Regions from separate parts of the Homo sapiens genome. Here region 1 is linked to region 2. The links are contacts of gene promoters, found by promoter capture Hi-C in human tissues and cell types (Jung and others, 2019). All regions are on one chromosome and are shown on one strand. Each heading gives the region's core, a stretch centred on a gene start or on the middle of the fragment in contact. The rest is flanking DNA. Distances are from core to core; before and after follow the strand shown.

Region 1 (2,700 bases), core at 153-2,652, 310 kb before region 2:
TTCAATGCACCCCCTCTTTTCCGCCCCATTTTTTTTTTTTGAGACAGAGTTTCTTTCTGTCACCCAGGCTGGAGTTCATTGGCACGATCTCGGCTCACTGCAACCTCCACCTCCCGGGTTCAAGTGATTCTCCTGCCTCAGCCTCCTGAGTAACTGGGATTACAGACACATGCCACAACACCTGACTGATTTTTGTATATTTTTAGTAGAGATGGGGTTTCACCATGTTGGCAAGGCTGGTCTTGTACTCCTGACCTCAAGTCATCCACCTGCCTCGGCCTCCCAAAGTGCTGGGATTATAGATGTGAGCCACCGCGACTGGCCTCCACCCCATTTTCTTCTTTCTTTCTTTTTTCTTTTTCTTTTTCTTGTTGTTTTGTTTGTTTGTTTGTTTGTTTGTTTTAGACGGAGTCTGGTTCTGTCACCCAGACTGGAGTGCAGTGGCGCAATCTTGGCTCCCTGCAAGCTCTGCCTCCCGGGTTCACGCCATTCTCCTGCCTCAGCCTCCCGAGTAGCTGGGACTACAGGCGCCCGCCACCACGCCTGGCTCATTTTTTTGTATTTTTAGTAGAGACGGGGTTTTACCGTGTTAGCCAGGATGGTCTCCATCTCCTGACCTGGTGATCCGCCCGCCTGGGCCTACCAAAGTGCTTGGATTACAAGCGTGAGCCACCGCGCCCGGCCTCCACCCCATTTTCTAAACTGGAAGCTGAAAGGCACAGGGCAGATTAATAATCCTTAAAGCCAAAGGACAGGAAATTTTAGCAAAGACTCCAATTTTTTGTGCAGTCTAATGTTACTCATGATTGCTTTAGAGATGGACTCCTTAATCAACTCCTCCAATCCTCTTCCGCCCCCAGGGGGCAGTTTTAATTGATGGGCTCAGCACATAATTGAAATTAAAAACGTACATCTCATGGTGTTTGGCTCATTCAACAGCCAATGGAAACTCAGGGCCAAATCTTTGTAAAAGTTCTAGGCTCTGCTTCCCAGCAGAGGGGGAAACCGGCTCCCAAAGAGGCCGTTTTGTGGAGACAGACATATGAGAAGTGGGCTTCAGATCTATTTCATGGTCTTGGTGGTTGTGCAACTGGCCACTTTGGTTCACGGAAGGATGTAAAGGGCAGGGAGGTGGGAATAGAGCGGGGGAAAGGTGACTCCCGTCAAAGAATTTTTCTAACATCCATCAAGTATCGTGATTAGAACTTTTCTCTCCGCAGACTCCTCCAATTTTTGAGCGCGGTATTTTTCGGCACAGGAAATGGCCCGGAGGAGCTGCAGAGCAAAGCCTCCCCTCTCTGGCACCGCATGGGAGTGCCCCGTGGGATGAGGGAGAGGACAAGGCAGTCAGGCAAAGGTTACGGGAGGAAAGCAAAGGCAGGAGCCCAGAACCACTCCAGGAAATGTTTGGATTTCTCCACCAGGAGGGAGGACAAACAAGCTTTCTTCTTGCCTTCTGGGCAGCTTTGTGTGCTCTCCAGCACGGAGTCCGAGGAGGAACAGCGAAGCTGAAAATGAAAATTACTCTGGCGCTGGACCCAATCGCTCCTCTACGGCATCAATCTCATCGGACCCCCCCACCCTACCGCCTCTCAGAAATGACCACTTTTGCAAAATTGCATGCATTTCCAAGCTTCATCCGGCTCCAGGCTTGGCCTCTCCCAGAGGCAGGCGGCTTGTGAGACGGGCTCCAGAGAAAGGACCTCCCTGGGTCTCTCATTTCCTGGCTGAAGTTTCTCTTCTCGCTGCTGTGGCAGCATCCAACCCACACACACAGGACCCGCATCCTGGGTGATGAAGTCAGACACGCAGCAGCTGGGTGAGTGCTAACGCTCAGATAAGCATCTGTGCCATTGTGGGGACTCCCTGGGCTGCTCTGCACCCGGACACTTGCTCTGTCCCCGCCATGTACAACGGGTCGTGCTGCCGCATCGAGGGGGACACCATCTCCCAGGTGATGCCGCCGCTGCTCATTGTGGCCTTTGTGCTGGGCGCACTAGGCAATGGGGTCGCCCTGTGTGGTTTCTGCTTCCACATGAAGACCTGGAAGCCCAGCACTGTTTACCTTTTCAATTTGGCCGTGGCTGATTTCCTCCTTATGATCTGCCTGCCTTTTCGGACAGACTATTACCTCAGACGTAGACACTGGGCTTTTGGGGACATTCCCTGCCGAGTGGGGCTCTTCACGTTGGCCATGAACAGGGCCGGGAGCATCGTGTTCCTTACGGTGGTGGCTGCGGACAGGTATTTCAAAGTGGTCCACCCCCACCACGCGGTGAACACTATCTCCACCCGGGTGGCGGCTGGCATCGTCTGCACCCTGTGGGCCCTGGTCATCCTGGGAACAGTGTATCTTTTGCTGGAGAACCATCTCTGCGTGCAAGAGACGGCCGTCTCCTGTGAGAGCTTCATCATGGAGTCGGCCAATGGCTGGCATGACATCATGTTCCAGCTGGAGTTCTTTATGCCCCTCGGCATCATCTTATTTTGCTCCTTCAAGATTGTTTGGAGCCTGAGGCGGAGGCAGCAGCTGGCCAGACAGGCTCGGATGAAGAAGGCGACCCGGTTCATCATGGTGGTGGCAATTGTGTTCATCACATGCTACCTGCCCAGCGTGTCTGCTAGACTCTATTTCCTCTGGACGGTGCCCTCGAGTGCCTGCGATCCCTCTGTCCATGGGGCCCTGCACATAACCCTCAG
Region 2 (2,700 bases), core at 145-2,644:
ACCACACCCAGCCCCAAAACAATATTTTTAATAAAGACAGGCTCAGCCTACTGAGTAGAGAAGAAAAGACAAGCCCATAAGTGTTCCTAGCTGAACTCCCCCATTAGAAGTGGTCTGTGCCTCATCCTATGACATCTATGATTCCACAGCTTGCTGATTACAGCTGAAGACTGTTTAGATTAGGGGGTGAGGCGCGCCTTTCAGATTAGGAATATGGATATGGGATTTCAGGAGTACCACCACCACCTGACCTTGCAGCCTGTAAATTAGGGCGATGTTGAATTAGGTAACAGCATTTCGAGGGATTTCAGACATGAATGGAGAGGAGGGGCCAGGAGACAAATTTACATAGTTCAGAACTTCGTGCATTACCAGAGCAGTTCCCTCTTCCTGCTGGTCCAGGCAGCACGGTGCTTTGAATAAAGGTCAGCTAGAGGGGTCACCCGCCGATTATTCTCTTCTACTGGCAAGGAGGAGGAAGCCCCTGCCCCCTTATCCACCACAAAATCCTGGGCTTCCCCGACAGCTGCAAATTCCTCCCTGGAGATGTAAGGCTTCTGGGGTTGCCATGGTCCATGGGAGTGAAATGCTGGCCGCCCTCTGCTACCCCAGCCCCGAGCAGGCTGTTGCAGCCTTCCCTCCTGTCCCTTTCAAAAGCTTTTAAAGGAAATCCCAGGGGGGAAGGAGGATGGGACACTAACCAGGGCTTCCGTCCAAGCAGCCAGGGCGAATAAAAGGGGCTTTTCTCAAACGAACGGAGCAAACCCTGGGATCGTTTCAAAGGATTTTTAACCCGCGGTCGTTCCCGGAGGGAAGTGGGGAGCAGATACAGTTCTTCCCAAGCTTAACCTGCTCTACAGTTCCTTTCAGCATTTTCTCCAGGGACGCCTCATCCAGGGTCTTTCCCTGGAGGGAGGCGAGGGCAGAGATGATCCTTCCCAATCCCCAACTTAACCTGCTTCGGAAGCGCCTTGCAGCCTGTTTCAAAGGATTTCTCACCCTTGTCTGGCGGGAAGGGGAGGGCAAACAAATGAATCAGCCCCAAAGAGCGGGCTGAGGTCGAGGCTGAATGGGGCTCTTGGGTGTGACTTGCAAATTCTGGGAACACTTTGCAGAAATGACGAGAAGCCCCTCGGAGCAGGCCTGTGGGTTTTCCCTCGCACCTTGCTCCCCAAGCCGGGGCTCGGGAGGGTTCGAGGGCGGAGCGGCGGGCGCGCCGGGGCCAGGGTCCTCCCGGGGCCGCGGTGGGCGCAGACAAAGAGGCGGCGGGGCGGCGCGGGGCCGGGCGCGGGCCGCAGGGCCGGTGCGGACTCGAGGGGCCGGGCCGGCCGGGCCGGCCGGGCGGGCGCGGCGGCGGAGCGCTGGGAGGAGCCGCGCGGCGTCTTCTCCTGGCAGCGCGCGCCCGCCCGGCCCCGCGGCGGCGGCGGCGCGTCACGCTCTCCCCCGCCCCGAGCCGACGAGCCGGGAGGCGGGAGGCGGCGGCCGCGGCGGCTGCTGCTGCTGCAGTGGGACAGGTGGCGGCGACCGGCGGCGTCCGAGGAGGTGAGCAGGGGGCGGCGCGGGCCCTCTCCCTTTCCCGGCACCCCCTGCTCCCCTGCCGGCTTCCCGGCCTGCGGGGCCCGCCCAGGGTCGGGTCGGGGGTCGAAGCCCGGCGTCCGGGAGCGGGGCCGAGCCTCGCGCGCCGGAGCCGTCCGGGAGGGGACCGCGGGAGTCTCGGGTGGCCGGCGCCGGAGGCCGGGGGTCCCTGGGGGGCTCCTCCGGAGCTGGAAAAGTGGCGGCCCTGTCAGCGCCGAGCCGGGCCTTCGCTTCCTCCGCCCGCCTCAAGATGGAGCTTGGACTCCTTGCCCCTGCGCCGCCCCAGGCGCCGCTCTCTCCCTGGCGCCCCGCTCCCTCTCCTGGGCCCCGGGGCGGATGTGGGATCGGCCGGACCCCGGGAGGCCGAAGCCGGGCGGGACCTGTTGCCCCGGGCGCCGCGCCTGTCACCTGAGCATTCCTCAGGCCCCGGGTGCCCGGCGCCCGCGATCCGGCATGGAGGGCACCCTGGCCCGGCCTCCCCCGCTGCCCCGGCTTTTGTTTTCCTCTCAAGTGGGGCTGTGATTCTCGGAGACCGGGGAAGGCTGGAGGTGGCCAGATCGCTCTCGGGTTTCCGAAATCACACCGCTGCCCGGTAATCCGAACCTTCTACCGCGGCAGGGGATTGGCGCGGAAGGCAGATGACACTTGTTCAGAGGTTATTTTACAAGCAGAACCTAGCGATTGCCCGAATTGGAAGGTCCTGCCTTTCAAAAATCGGGTTTTGATTCGGGGGTGAATCCTGAATCCGGCTGTTTCTCCACTTCATGTGGCTTTTCCATCTGGCAGGAGCCGAGCGCCACCCCCTCCTCCCTGCACAGCCCCACCTCTTTGGTATGAAGAAATTACACGTTGTCCGTCATCGGTTTAGATACCTGTTTTTAGCAAAACTTGGGCGCCAGTGAACTGTTTTTTAAAACAAAGGGTGGAGAAGATTCTGTAATTGTGTGTGTGTGATTCAGCAGCCTGGCCTTCTTCCTCTTTTAGGACAGTGGCCCCTAGCAGCTCTATAAGTATTAAGTGCTGTGGCCACTGCTGTCATTAGGGTTATGATTCTGGCTGTTCTTATTATTTGATTTGTGTCACTACTGTTAGCGATGGTATCCACGAATCAGGAGAGTATCCCAG

What was found. The method cuts DNA at HindIII sites, captures the fragments that hold promoters and counts their contacts. A contact is called where the count stands out against the background at its distance.
Region 1: the fragment with the promoter of HCAR1 here is called in contact with the fragment with the promoter of CLIP1 in region 2 in 1 of the 25 tissues and cell types used here (lymphoblastoid cells).

The regions. Positions count from the first base shown.
Region 1 is chr12:122,729,546-122,732,245 of GRCh38, reverse strand. It overlaps HCAR1 (hydroxycarboxylic acid receptor 1), which reads left to right and starts at 1,402. Exons shown (of 1, transcript NM_032554.4): 1 at 1,402-2,700. The coding sequence starts at 1,907. RefSeq lists an enhancer at 1,973-2,640. The HindIII fragment of the contact is 12,382 bases long and covers 1-2,700 here.
Region 2 is chr12:122,421,363-122,424,062 of GRCh38, reverse strand. CLIP1 (CAP-Gly domain containing linker protein 1) reads left to right here and starts at 1,394. Exons shown (of 26, transcript NM_001247997.2): 1 at 1,394-1,542. RefSeq lists an enhancer at 119-218 and silencers at 1,328-1,677, 1,698-2,097. The HindIII fragment of the contact is 23,258 bases long and covers 1-2,700 here.